Linked DNA regions of Homo sapiens: region 1 is linked to region 2. Evidence: promoter capture Hi-C in 16 types of primary human blood cells and fetal thymus (Javierre and others, 2016). All regions are on one chromosome and are shown on one strand. The core of a region is centred on a gene start or on the middle of the fragment in contact, and the rest is flanking DNA. Distances in the headings are between cores, read along the strand shown. Region 1 has its middle 110 kb from the start of SCARB1. Region 2 holds the start of DNAH10OS (dynein axonemal heavy chain 10 opposite strand).

Region 1 (6,442 bases), core at 3,118-5,617, 820 kb after region 2:
GTGAAGGGGGCGGGCCTTGTCTGTCCTGGAACTCTTGGCTTAGGGCGCCCTCTTCCTGGTGCAGGACACAAATTCTAGACCCCTCACCTCCAGAGCATTGCGGCAGAACCAGGTCACCAGGCCTGCCTCACTACCTGCTCCCAGCACACGAAAATCTCGCTCCCTCTCTCCATTTCCCTCCAGAACCAGCAACAGCTTTCCTCGCAAGCTCAGGTGTGACCAACGTGTAGTTCTCCTGTTCTGTGGGAGTAAAACTGGCTGGGCACACGGCCACAAAGCCTGAGACCCGGAGACCTCGCTCCCCCTTCCCTTGCTTCTGCTGGAATGTGAATGGAAGTGTCCACACCTGCTTCACGGGCTTCTCCCTCTCCCCCTTTCTGAGAGCTGGAATGTGGGTCTGGTTTTAACACTGCTTCAACCACGCCATGAGGACCATATCCAGGCGGGATGGACGACAGGATGGAAGGGGCTGGGCCCCAATTACTGTAAGGCAAAGCTCCTGGCCGTCCTGACGGCCCGCCTCCGTCAGCCCTCTTACAGTAGAGAGAAACAAGCTTCTCTCTTGCTTTAGCCAATGTTGCATTGGAGTTTCTCTTCTTTCTCTCTCTCTTTTTGTTTTGTTTTGTTTGTTTTTGAGACAAGGTCTTGCTCTGTCGCCCAGGCTGGAGTTCAATGGCTCTATCATAGCTCACTGCCACCTTGACCTCCTGCCTCAGCCTCCCAAGTAGCTGGGACTGCTGGTGTGTGCCACCATGCCCACGTCCAGCTAAATTTTTTTTGTATTTTTTGTAGAGACAGGGTCTCACTATGTTGCCCAGGCTGGTTTCAAACTCCTGGCCTCTAGTGATCCTCCTACCTCAACCTCCCAAAGCACTGAGATTACAGACATGAGCCACCGTGCCCAGCCTGGAGTTTCTTTGTTACAGCAGCTGAATCTATACCCTGACTAATACATCGAGTTTTCACAAAAGGCCAGTATAGATGGACTATCTTCCAGAGGCTTCTCATCTCTGCCCAGAAAAACAAATATCGAGGAAAGGGCTGGATGTTGCCTTGGAATTGAGGGAGGGAAATCACAGGGTGAATAAACACAGATGACTATCTCAGTAAAGAACCTGCTTACCACAGTGCCTTCCTTGGGGGGTGGTTTGAAGGACCCCCAGGGACTGATGCATACAAGACAGCCGGCTCCTGAGGCCTGGGGCACAGCGAGCGCCGACTGCCAGAAAACACCGTGGCCGCGGGGCGGCTGCACTGAGCCTTGTCAATAGTGAGCACTTTGCCGTGAGCCCTGTCTGGCTTACAACCTGGCATGTGGGCTTGGGCAAGTCATTTCATAGTTGCCACAAATAATTACCGAGCACCTACTGTATGCCAGGCACCAAATAATTACTGAGCACCTACTGTATGCCAGGCACCAAATAATTACTGAGCACCTACTGTATGCCAGTTCTGGAAGCTGGAGACGAAGTGGGGAGTGAGAAATACCTAGTCTCTGCCCTCTCTGACTCAGCTTTGACTATCTTGAGAGGTGCCAGCCCAGGGGTTCTTTGAGTGCCAGGCTGACCAGCTTCAATGCCCTGCAGCAGGCACTCAAGTTCACAGCAGATGGAGTGATGTGGCAGAGGCACAAGGAAAATGATTAATCTGGCAGCGAAAAACAGAATGGATTCGGCTCAGATGATTAGCAGCCCCAGGAGGGACAAGGAAAAAAAAAAAAAAACCCTGACTCTACGATGGCTCAGCAGAACTGCTCTCTCTAATAAATAATAATTCTCCAGCTTTCCTGCTAACAGTCACAGGCAGGATTTCTCATCTCTATGCCCGTCCCCCACCAGAAGTCAGGCATGGCCGTGTGGCTTGCCTGGGCCAATGAGATGTCAGCAGAAGTGATGTAAGTTGCATCTAAGAAGAAGCTCTAAGAAGCAGTGCACAGCCTGCCTCAAGCCCGATGATGCTCCACATGGCAGAGGCCCCCTCTGCATCCCAGAGTGAGAAGACATGGCACAGAGCCCATTGCCAACACACAGCAGACACATAGCACGGGTGAGAGACAAACGTTGGTTGTTAGAAAACCATGAGATTTTGGAGTTGTTTGTTACTGCAACACAACTGAGCCGATACTGACTGATACATCTCCGTTTCACAGGTGAGGAAACAAAGTGTGGAAGAGATCACCAAGGTTACCCAAAGTCAAACACAGAGTAGAGGCACAGACAAGACTCAAAGACAGGTCTGCCCTTTGCTGCAACCCTCCATTCTGAACAAACCCAGCCAAGCCCCTTACTGCTAACCACTTCAATTAAAGCCAATGTCAAGGCCTCCTGGTTTCTAAATGAACAGCCCTGATCATGTTCGTTAAAGGCCCTGTCTGCACAGACTGCTCATTTTATCCGAAGCCGCCAACAAGATAAATGGCCCTGTAACTTATTGTTCTGCTGCAAAGCACCTCACGGCAAGCGGCGGCACAGATGCCAGGAATAAATCACATCTGATCTTCCGAGAGCCAGGCAGAGCGCCCACGAGGAGTGTCGGAGGCAGGGGAGGTTGGCACAGCCCTGGACCTTGGGGGTTGGAGCAGCCCTGGACCTTGGGGGGATTCACTAAGGAGCAGAGAGCTGCAGGGGTCTTTATTAGGGCCCCGGAGCTCTGGAGTATACATTGTTCTTTTTTATCGGCCCAGCACCTATTTCCCCTTCTTGGGGTTTAATAGCACCCCTTTTTCTCTGGGAAAACCATCTCTCCTCCGCTCTCAGTCTGTCTGGTTCCGATGGGGTCATCCCTTCTCCCAGTTACAGGGAGGAGCATGAACACGTGACCTACCCTGGTCAATCAGAGCTTCACATTCTTTTGCAGCCATGACTAGCTCAGAGCAGGCAGGTGACCCACACCAGGCTGATGGGACCCAAACCTCAGACTTCTGCTGAAACTCTAGGAAAAAAGGAGTTCTCTCTTCTAACAGGTTGCTCACAGAAGGAACTTTTCCGTTGAATTACCTCAGTTTCTAGCACAATTACAGGCACATGGTAGGTGCTTGGTAAAAATGGGCTGGATGAATGAACAATCCACCTGGAGTTAGCACAGCTGGCTTCTTGTCTGGGCGCAGCCATCTCTAACTTCAAGACAGCTTCTTCACCTCTGCAGGTCTCAGTTTTCTTGCCTATAAAAAGGCATTAATAACAGCACTTAGCAGTAGCTGATTATATCAGTTAGCTATTGCTGCCGACATGCTGCGTAACAAAAGATTCCCACCTGCAATCACTCATTATCATTTCCGTGTCTGCCAGTTGGCTGGGAGTCACCTGATCCAGGCTGGGCTGGGCTGCCCACCTGTCTCTCTTCCTCTTTGGATCAGCAAGTTAACCCAGGGCCTGTTTGTCTCACCCAGTGACAGAGGCACAGCATAATACAAGGTCCCTGAAGGGATAGGGCCAATACTAGCACAGCCTCATTTCCATTGCCTTCTTATGGCCAAAGCAAGTCACATGGCCAGACCTAAAGTCAAGAGGTGGGGAAATGCACTCTACTTCTTTGCCACCCGGTAAAGGGCACAGATGTGGGGGGTGGTGAGGAATTGAGGCTGGCTGTGTACCCCCACAATGCCATTGTCTGTGCCTTGATGTTGACTTGATCCGTGTCCACCTCCTTCTCCACTAGAATAAACCTCGGAGCACCTGGATCTCTGTCTGCTTTGTTCACGGCTGTATCCCAGCATCTAGAACGGGGCCCAGGACAGAGTCAATGCACAGCAAATCCTTGTGGAAAGCCTGGCTAGCTGCCCCTGGCCTCCCTCTGCTGTGAGGATTGAGCCAGGTCAGAGACCCAGACATGGCATTGGAAGTTATGGAAGCCCCTCAAAGACTCACGGTGCAGACCCCTGCTCTGGCTTTTAAATATCCAGTGGGAATGAATGTCCCATCTCTGACCCTGATGATCAGCAGTGCCAGGGGTCCGGTTCGGGTGAGGGTTGTCACATCTGGGGAGAGACCTGCTGGCACTGGCCGTGTTTGCACACCCATCTCTCTCTCCTCTGACTCAGTGGTCCTGGAGAGGCCCCCTCACAGCTCAAAACCATCCCCTTGGATCAGGAAGGCACAGGTTTAACTCCATGCTGAGGCCACAGACCTCTCTGGGGTGTGCAGGAAGTGGCCCAAAAGGCCCTGGGGAGAGAACAGTCTGCTGGGGCCATGTGCATGGCCCAGGGCGCCCGAGGCCCAGCCCTGCCTGGGCCTCCCATCCCTGCCCTATGCGGTTTTCCTCTTGCCCTGCTTCCCATCTCTGAGAAGCAGCAAAGTCACCCTCCCCATCTGCCCTTCCCTGGGGGAGCGGTCCCCACCCCCACGTCCATCTGGACCTCAGTGCGGCCATCCCTCCCATGCACAAAGCTCCTCCCAGCCCCAGCACACAGGAAACCTCTCGAGTCTGCCCCCGTGGTGCACACTTCAGCACAAAAGCCTTCCCCCTCTCCAGGCCCAGCCTGAAAGAACCAAATGTTCCTCTATTATGCAAGCTCATTCCTCTCTTCCTGCCGCGGCCGAAATTGCAATCTGTGCGGAGGGGTGGAGGGGGAAGAGCAGGCCTAGGAAAGAGAGAGCTGAACAGCGGCAGAAGGAGCATCCCTCCCACCCTGCTAAACGCCAACTTAGCACCAGCTCCAACCCCTCGAAGGCCCCGGCCAGACACCCCAGCAGAGGGGATGTGGTGTCAGCACCTGTAACCAAATATGAACCCAGTCGTCCCTGTGGTTTGCCCGGAGGAGATAAACTCTGGGTGTATTCCCACAGTGAAGAAGAACACTGCTGCCAGCCGGCCATCAACTACAGTGCTTTCATTCCAGGGGGGCTAAGGCGGTGTCAAAGGCACTGATCACCGGAAAACAACATGTGGGTATTGTGTGTTGAGAGCTGGCTATGCATCAGGCACTGTTGTAAGCACCTTACCCGTTTAGTCCTCACACTCTACGGATAGGTCTTAGTATCACGCCCATTGCACAGAGGAGGAAACTGAGGCTCAGAGTGGGTGGCTTCACGGAGGAAGCATAATCAGGAAGCAGAGGATCTGGGGTCCAAACCAGGCAACCTGACCTCAGATCTGCCCCGTAAACAGCTGCTCTGTTAACCCATGGATCGGCATTTGTGTTCCACAGGCCTTTCCTGCAAGCCGAAAAGCCACACCATCTAAGATCCAGCAAACCCACTTCTGGGTTTTATTTATTTATTTATTTATTTGAGACAGGATCACACTCTGTCACCCAGGCTGGAGTGCAACAGCGTGATCATGGCTCACTGCAGCCTCGACCTCCTGGGTTCAAGTGATTCTCCCACTTCTGCCTCCCAAGTAGCTGGGACCACAGGCATGTGCCACCACGCCCAGCTAGTTTTTAAATTTTTATTGGAGACAAGGTCTCGAGATGTTGCCCAGACTGGTCTCAAACTGCTGGGCTCAAGCAGTCCTTCTACATCTGTCTCCCAAAGTACTGGGGTTACAGGCTGAGTCACCATGCTCAGCTTCCACTTCTCGGTTTATATCCGAAAGAACAGAAAAGAGAATCTCAAAGAAATATATGCACACTGAAGTTTATAGCAGCCTGATGTGTTGATTCACAAGAGCTCAAAGGTGGAGGCAACATAAGGGTTTGTGGATGGATGGATAGATGGATGGATGGATGGACGGACGGACGGACAGATGGATGGATAAACAAACTGTGGTCCATCCATACAATGGAATATTATCCAGCCAGGAAAAGGAAGAAAACCCTGTCATGTGCTAACCCAATGGATGAACCTTGAGGACATTATGCTAAGTGAAATAAGCCAGTCACAAAAGGACAAATACTGTTTGATTCCACTTAGAGGAGGTAGCTAGAGTCATCAAATTCATAGAGACAGAAAGTAGAATGGCAATTGCCAGGGGCTAGGGAGAGAGAAATGGGAGTGCTTGTTTAATGGGGACAGAGTTTCAGTTCTGCAAGATGAAAAAGTTCTGGAGATCTGTTGCACAACAGTGTGAATGTACTCAATGCCCCTGAACTGTACACTCGAAAATGGTTAAGATGGTAAATGTTATGTTAGATGTATTTTGCCACAATTTTAAAAAGCGGAACACCATCATTGTTGTCACCATCAGAAGAGTTGCCATGCTTGGACGGCACCTTTTGGACACCCACTGCACTGTTGTAAGGACTTGACTTAACCTCCCTGATAGATTGTGTTGATGGCCCCAAGTTTATACCTCACCCTGTATGCATGCCCTTTGCTGTGTGGCTTTGCAATTCCTCTCACCAAAGAGGTAAAGTTACTCCCCCACCCCTTGAATCTGAAATGGCCTTGTGACTGGTGTCAGCTGATAAAAGTAACAATGTGCTAGTGCCAAGGTGGGCCTTGAAAAGCCTGGAGCAACTGCTTGTACTCTTCCACCTCTGCCATCATCTCAGATCCTACCC
Region 2 (6,227 bases), core at 34-2,533:
AAGTTTCTCTTCCACTTTCTCCGTTGAGACCTGGGGTCTATGGCAGGGGAGACCTGAACCATGTTCACTCTGCTAGCTCATGGCAAGTGGGCTCCTAGGTCAGAATTAGCTCTTGCAAAAACCATCAGGTGGCTTTCTTGTAACCCCTGACGGGGCCAGGGGCATGGGAGCCACAGAGCAGCATGGACTAACTTGGTTGGAACTCTTTGATTATGCCAGAACTTCAGGTCCCTTAGACATTGGTTACTGACTGTGCAAATGAGAGCTGGAAACTGCTGTTTCCCCGGGTCCATGTTGTCTTAGAGTTCTTTTAACTGCAAGGAACAAAAGCTCTTTTGAGATGGCTTAAGGACTGGGGACTTACGGTAAAGATGCAGGGACTCTCCAGGTCTCAGTGGCAGGGGAGGTGGCAGGTGTCCGGGCCACCACTCTCTCTGGGGCCACAGGAGTGTGTTCCTCTCTTTGCACATCTGCTGGGTCCTCCTCCCCGGAGACCACTTTCTCTGTGAGGCTTCGACTTCCTGCTCCCCAGCCACTTCGGCTCACAGGGTAGCTGGGGTTGCCATGGTGCCCATTCTGACTCTGGGACCATGCATCTTTCTAGCCTGGGGGCCCAGGGTGGTCTAAGTCCGTGGGCCTTGATGCCCCAGGAATGAGGATTCCTGGGGGAGAGGCCACCGCCCCACACCCATTTCTCTGGGCCATGGGGCAGGGCCACAGGGTCTCCTGTCTGGGCTGCTCCTCCACAGAGGGAAGGTGGGCAGGACAGAAATGCTGGAGAAGGGCCTGGGCTGTCCCCAATGCGCTGGGGAGGAGGCCAGCCAGTGGCCTGTGTGTCGCTGTGTGTGCGCCTGATAGAGCCACTCCGTGGCAGGCTGTGCATGCTCCAGTTGTATCCAGTCTCTGCCTTGTGTCCCTAGGATGCTTTGTCTCAGGACTGTACCTGGAAGGTGCTGACTGGGATATAGAAAAAGGATGTCTTATCAAGAGCAAACCCAAGGTGCTGGTTGTGGACCTGCCGATCCTGAAGATCATCCCCATTGAAGCCCATCGCCTCAAGCTGCAGGTGAAGGTCCCAGCCCCTCCTCTCTGACACCAGGGCCCTTCCTCTTCTGACTGTAGTTATGGCTGAGGTGGTTTCCAACAGTCCTACTTTTTAAAACAGGGGTGCCTAAGCTTTATGGGCTGGGGAGAGTCTTGGAGCCGTGATAAAAGCTACGGATAGCTGCTTCCTGGAAAAGGCGCGGCTGTATGTGTGTGTGGATGCCGGTCCTTCCAGAGGTGTCAGGCTCAAGCTGTGATCCTGTGGTCTAGACTAACCAAGGGGAGACTCCCTCCCTTCTTGCAAAATGCTGCAGACATTGCCTGAGTCATAAAGTGGTTCCCGCTGGTGTGGACAGCAGATGTCTTCTGCTCTGCCTGGGCCAGGACCCACTTTTAACCAGGGTGTCAGTGTGAAGCCAGGTCCCCGTGAAGCTGGCGGAGGGTGGCCCTGAGCAGCCCCAGCCTTGTGCGTGTTCTCAGGTGCAGTCTTGCACAGGGGCCCCTGCCTGTCAAGACTTACACTGCACCTCTGCCTTTATCCCTCTGCACCCTCTCTCCGTGGGGGCATCTCACCTGCCTTTCCCTTGCAGAATACTTTCCGGACCCCCGTCTACACCACCTCCATGAGAAGGAACGCCATGGGAGTCGGCTTGGTTTTTGAAGCTGATCTCTTTACCACGAGGCACATTTCTCACTGGGTGCTGCAAGGAGTATGCCTCACCCTGAATTCTGATTAACCTTTGGGTGAAGAAAACTGCTTAATGAATTCGGAGCCTGGGGTTGTCAGAGTGATCGGGTCTGCTGTCATTTCTTGGGGCCTCTCAAGAGGCAGGAGGGGGACTGACACTGATTTTTCATTTGAAATCAGCCACTTAAATCTCTTTCCATACAAATTAACCTGAATGGTTTTGTTTTTAATACTACTTTTTAAAAGGAATTTATATAATCAAAAAGTAAATATTGGAGAGTATTTTAAGATGTGTGGAGTTTTCTTTTCCTTCTCAGAGAAAACACTTGATTAGGCAAAAGTGCCTGGCATACATAGCATTGGCACAAGTGAGAATCCTAATGTAATTTCCAAAGGTGTGTTTTCGATGATCCAGGTCTGTTTCAGCAGATGCTCCTTTTTGGCAAGAAGGGCTGATGATGTCGGGCACAGAGCAGAAGTGACCAGTCACCTGGAGCCACTTCTCCCCCTTCCAGAACTCTCTGGCCCTAGCTTCTTTGGCTCTGACCTGCTACGGCGACTGTGAAGTTGTTGAGCTTAGTGTTTAGTTCCTGCATGAGCTTCTACCCCCAGCCTGCCTGGGTCTGTGTGGGGTCAGGTAAGGACACAGAACCTCCAGGACCAGTGGTCACTGGGCACCCCTTCCCTCTGTGCACCATGAGGCTGGCCTGGAGCCCTGGCTGGCCACCTGGAGGTGAGGGGTGGCTTCACTCCATGAGGGAGGAGAGGGGCTAGCACGGGCAGCACAGTGGGCAGGGGCCATCAGAGGCAAAAGCAGCTTCCCACAGAAGCTCAGGAGCGCAGCACATTCTAAGGACTAGCTCTGGGCCGGGAGGAGGCCGGAGTCGCTTCTGGGACCTGTGATTGCTCTCCCTCCTGCAGTCTCCTAGCCCTCCTTCAGGTGTTTGTTTAATAAAAGACACAAAACAGAAGGAAGGCAGGTTTAGAAAATAAAGTTTGTTGGGATCTTAAACATTTTGGATAAAACTAACAAAAAAATATGAACACACATTCAGGTTGTGGTGCTATGAGGAGTAGCGTCATCTTATTTAGTTCCTTGAGATACACGCACGGCTGCTCGGTGATCGGTGCCGCCCTGGGAAAGGTTGGTCAGGAGGTGACAGGGGTCTCCAGGAGGAGCTCGGGAGGTGACAAGGGTCTCCAGGAGGGAGCAGGGGCTGCTCGGCCAGGCTGCCCTGGAGCTTGAGGATAAGGTCAAGGTTGGTATGTGTTGCTCCGACTTGAGAATGAATTAGGTGTGTGACTGTGTGGCATCGTGAACATCAGTAGTGACGCAGCCGTGGCCTGGGCTTTGCCTGCAGCGCACTTAGGTTACACGGAGCGGGATCAGAAGCAAGCGATTCGGCACACAGGCGTTTGGCCACAGCAATTAGGAAATACATATTCTGCGGCAGGGACACGATCATATTTTGGTGTGAAGAAGAGGGCAAGAGAAGCAGAAGGAGAATGGGTCGGTAGGTGTGAAAAGTGTTTGGCATGCATGGGATTAAACAGAAAAGGTGTGGCTGAGATTTCCCAGTGGTGCTCACAGTGCATGGACAGCGCGGGGTGGGGCACGGCGGGCTTCACACAGTTCTGTCCGTCCCTGAGTGCTTCCTCACCACCTTGCCTCCGTTCACCTGGTCGACCGCCAGGGTCTTCACCTCGGGCTGGGCCTGCGGCGGGGTGGCGTGGTGGATCCGATGTGCCACCCCGACGTGGGCCTTGTGCGGCTTTTCGCGGGCCGGGCTGTGCTGCTCGCCGCTTCGGTCGGAGGCGATGGGGGGGATGACGAGGGGCCTCTCTTTGATGAGGTGGACCTCGGCGGACTCCCTAGCCAGCAGAAATGGGGTGGGGTCGGGCATAGCATCCACTGGTTCCCGCAAAAGGAGTTTCCTGCTCTCTGCCCCGAATCTGTAGACCTCTTCAAATTCCGGGTGCAAGGGGGCTGAGAGGCTCTTTTTCATGCGGCGGCGAGGCGTTTCGGGTAGCTTGTCTTTGGGGGGCGCTGGCTTGTAGCTGGCCAGCACGGGGCTCCCTGACGGGCTGGCATCTGAGGTCCCGCTGGAGCTCATGAGCTTCTTCTTGGCGGCGTGCAGCTGGGAGGTCAGGTAGGCGATGGTGCTGGCCCGCTGCTCCAGCTCGCTAGACAGCAGGGTCAGCTTGTGACTCTTGGCCTTCAGCTCCTCCAGGTACTTCTTCTCTCGCTCCTTGATGGTGTTCTCCAGCACTGTGATCATCGCGTTTTTCTGCTCCAGTTCTTTCAACAACTCAGCATTTTCGTTCTCTTTCACTTTCAGTTGGGCTTCCAGCTCTTCACATCTTTTCTTTAATTCACTGCTTTTAGAAGTCCCGTCTCCTACAAGAATAAGCCGAGGAAGCAGGTGAAGAACTCATTAGACTGAGGCCGAGTGGTGAGGCCTATGGGGCAGGCGGACCTGTCTGGTGGGGGCCCTGTCTAGGCTGTGGGGGCCATGCAGAAGGCAGGGCTGTGGGGGCTCTGGAAAGACCCCTCCCCTCCCCGAGGTGGGGAGATCGGGGCATCTCAGAGGCCCTTTCCGGCTCTTAGTTCTCTGGCCTACTGCATAAAAGAATGTCTCTGAACCTTAAAGATGCTGAACTTAAAACAGGCAATTGCAGAGTATCAGACCTCAGCAAACACTTAGGATTCAACTGGCCGCAAATCCCTCTGTCTGCTCAGATGGCATTTATGGAATGCCTGCTACATTCAAAGTACTGTTTTGAAACTCAAATGTAAAAAGAATTATCCATGTCTATTGAATTAAAATTCTGATGTTTAGAGGAGAAGAGGTGTGGGGCTGTCACCTTTGCTCTGCCGCTGGCCGCCTCTCTCACCCCCCTACCCCCGTCTCTCTCACACACACACACACACAGACTCTTTCCCACTTCCTGCTCAGAGAGTGAGCTGTCTCGCCTCTGTGGCTCTTACCCTTGGTCCCTCCCTGCCCCTGCCCTAACACTTCGGGCCTCTGCCTCCTTTTGCTGTCCCTGGGTGCCTGCCCTCACCCAGTCCTTCAGCAAACACCAGCCACCTCCTTCTCCTGCTCTTCTGGTGACCTGCAGTCCCTGGTCACCTCACATAGCACCCTTGGCTCTAAACCCTGGGTCACCATCCTACTCCTCCTAACGCTGGCTGGCTGGCCATCCTCCTTGCCTGGCCCCTGGGAAGTTCTTTCTAGACTCTTCCTTGCTGGTCTGGAATTCAACTTGAGCATCAGCTCCCGATTCAGTGTCTCCTGAGCACCACTTCTCCAAGTGAGTGTCCGTCAGACACACCCTCAAGTCCAGATAGCTGCTCTGCTTCCCACATCTTGACTCTCCCAGGGAAACTGGATGCAGTCGCCATCCCTGGCCTCCCCTCCCTGACTGTGCCTTTCTGCTGGCTGCTCAGTGCTGCCCCCTCCCTGCTCCTCCAGCCGGCCTTGGTCCCACCTCCTCTCTGGTCTTCGTTTCAGCCCATCCTGTATTTAGGAAGCTTGGTCACCCCCTAAATATTCTTGTCCTCTGTTCAAAATGGTTCCTCACTGCCTAATAAAACCCAAACTGCCAGATGCCTTCCAGTTCCTCAATCTGTCCTGAATGTTATCTGCTCCCACATAAATCAAAGCTTCCATCACTCTCCCCAAGCCACCACCTCTTGTTCTGTCTCTATTGTACCCTCTGTCCTTGCCCTAACTCCAGACCTGCACGCCCAGTTTCCCTGTACCAACTCCACCACCCAGGGCCTGCCTAGGCACTGGACGCCACTGGACGTCTTTCCCGGGCTTCTGTCTGTCTTGCTTTGAATTTTCCCACCTGCCTGAGCTAGCAGCAGCTCTGCAGCATGTCCCGCCGCCAGACTCTGAGCTTTTGAGGGCCCACAGCTGACTGGACTGGTCTTGTGCAGGACACTTGCATGTTACAAGCTCGCTGCAGGTGATGGGCGCTCCTCGACTTAGCATGGGGTCATGTCCCGAAAAATCCAATGTAAGTTGAAAATACCGTAAGTCAAAAGTGTGTTTTCGATATTTTCAGCTTACCATGGGTTTATCTGGACATATCCATGGTAAGTCGAGGAGTGTACTGAATGGGTATTGCCCCATGCAGTTGAAAAATTTTAAGTTGAACCATTGCAAGTTTCTAGTTTTAAAAACCATGTGTCTGTGTGTGTATGTGCAGGTATAATGTCAGCAAATGACCTCCCTAAAAAGGATGCATGCAGTACTACCTTTCATGAGGTTTCTTCTTTTGCCAAAAGGAAAATAGATCCTAAAACACAGTTTCAGAGGTAGAGAGAGGGACAGAGACACACACACGACTCTGTAGACACTGTAAGACCCAGGAGCCCAGCCACCTGGGCTGAACCCCTGCAACCTGAAATGCTGACCTGGGCACGGCATTGGGCCTGGTACCCGCTGTCCTTCCCCCAGGGCCTGTGGGACAACAACCCATGCCT

The links. The method cuts DNA at HindIII sites, captures the fragments that hold promoters and counts their contacts. A CHiCAGO score of 5 or more calls a contact.
Region 1: a fragment that was not itself captured here is called in contact with the fragment with the promoter of DNAH10OS in region 2 in 1 of 17 cell types (naive B cells); the score reaches 6.0 in naive B cells.

The regions. Positions count from the first base shown.
Region 1 is chr12:124,750,931-124,757,372 of GRCh38, forward strand. No RefSeq gene overlaps it. Among named protein-coding and RNA genes, the nearest start is that of SCARB1, 110 kb to the right of the region's middle. RefSeq lists enhancers at 4,323-5,225, 4,595-4,684. The HindIII fragment of the contact is 7,631 bases long and covers 553-6,442 here.
Region 2 is chr12:123,933,701-123,939,927 of GRCh38, forward strand. It overlaps DNAH10OS (dynein axonemal heavy chain 10 opposite strand), which reads right to left and starts at 1,284. Exons shown (of 2, transcript NR_187476.1): 1 at 365-1,284. DNAH10 (dynein axonemal heavy chain 10) reads left to right here. Exons shown (of 79, transcript NM_001372106.1): 78 at 921-1,066; 79 at 1,635-2,014. The coding sequence ends at 1,781. It overlaps CCDC92 (coiled-coil domain containing 92), which reads right to left. Exons shown (of 5, transcript NM_025140.3): 5 at 1,926-4,130. The coding sequence ends at 3,358. RefSeq lists enhancers at 4,349-4,849, 4,850-5,350. The HindIII fragment of the contact is 4,091 bases long and covers 1,175-5,265 here.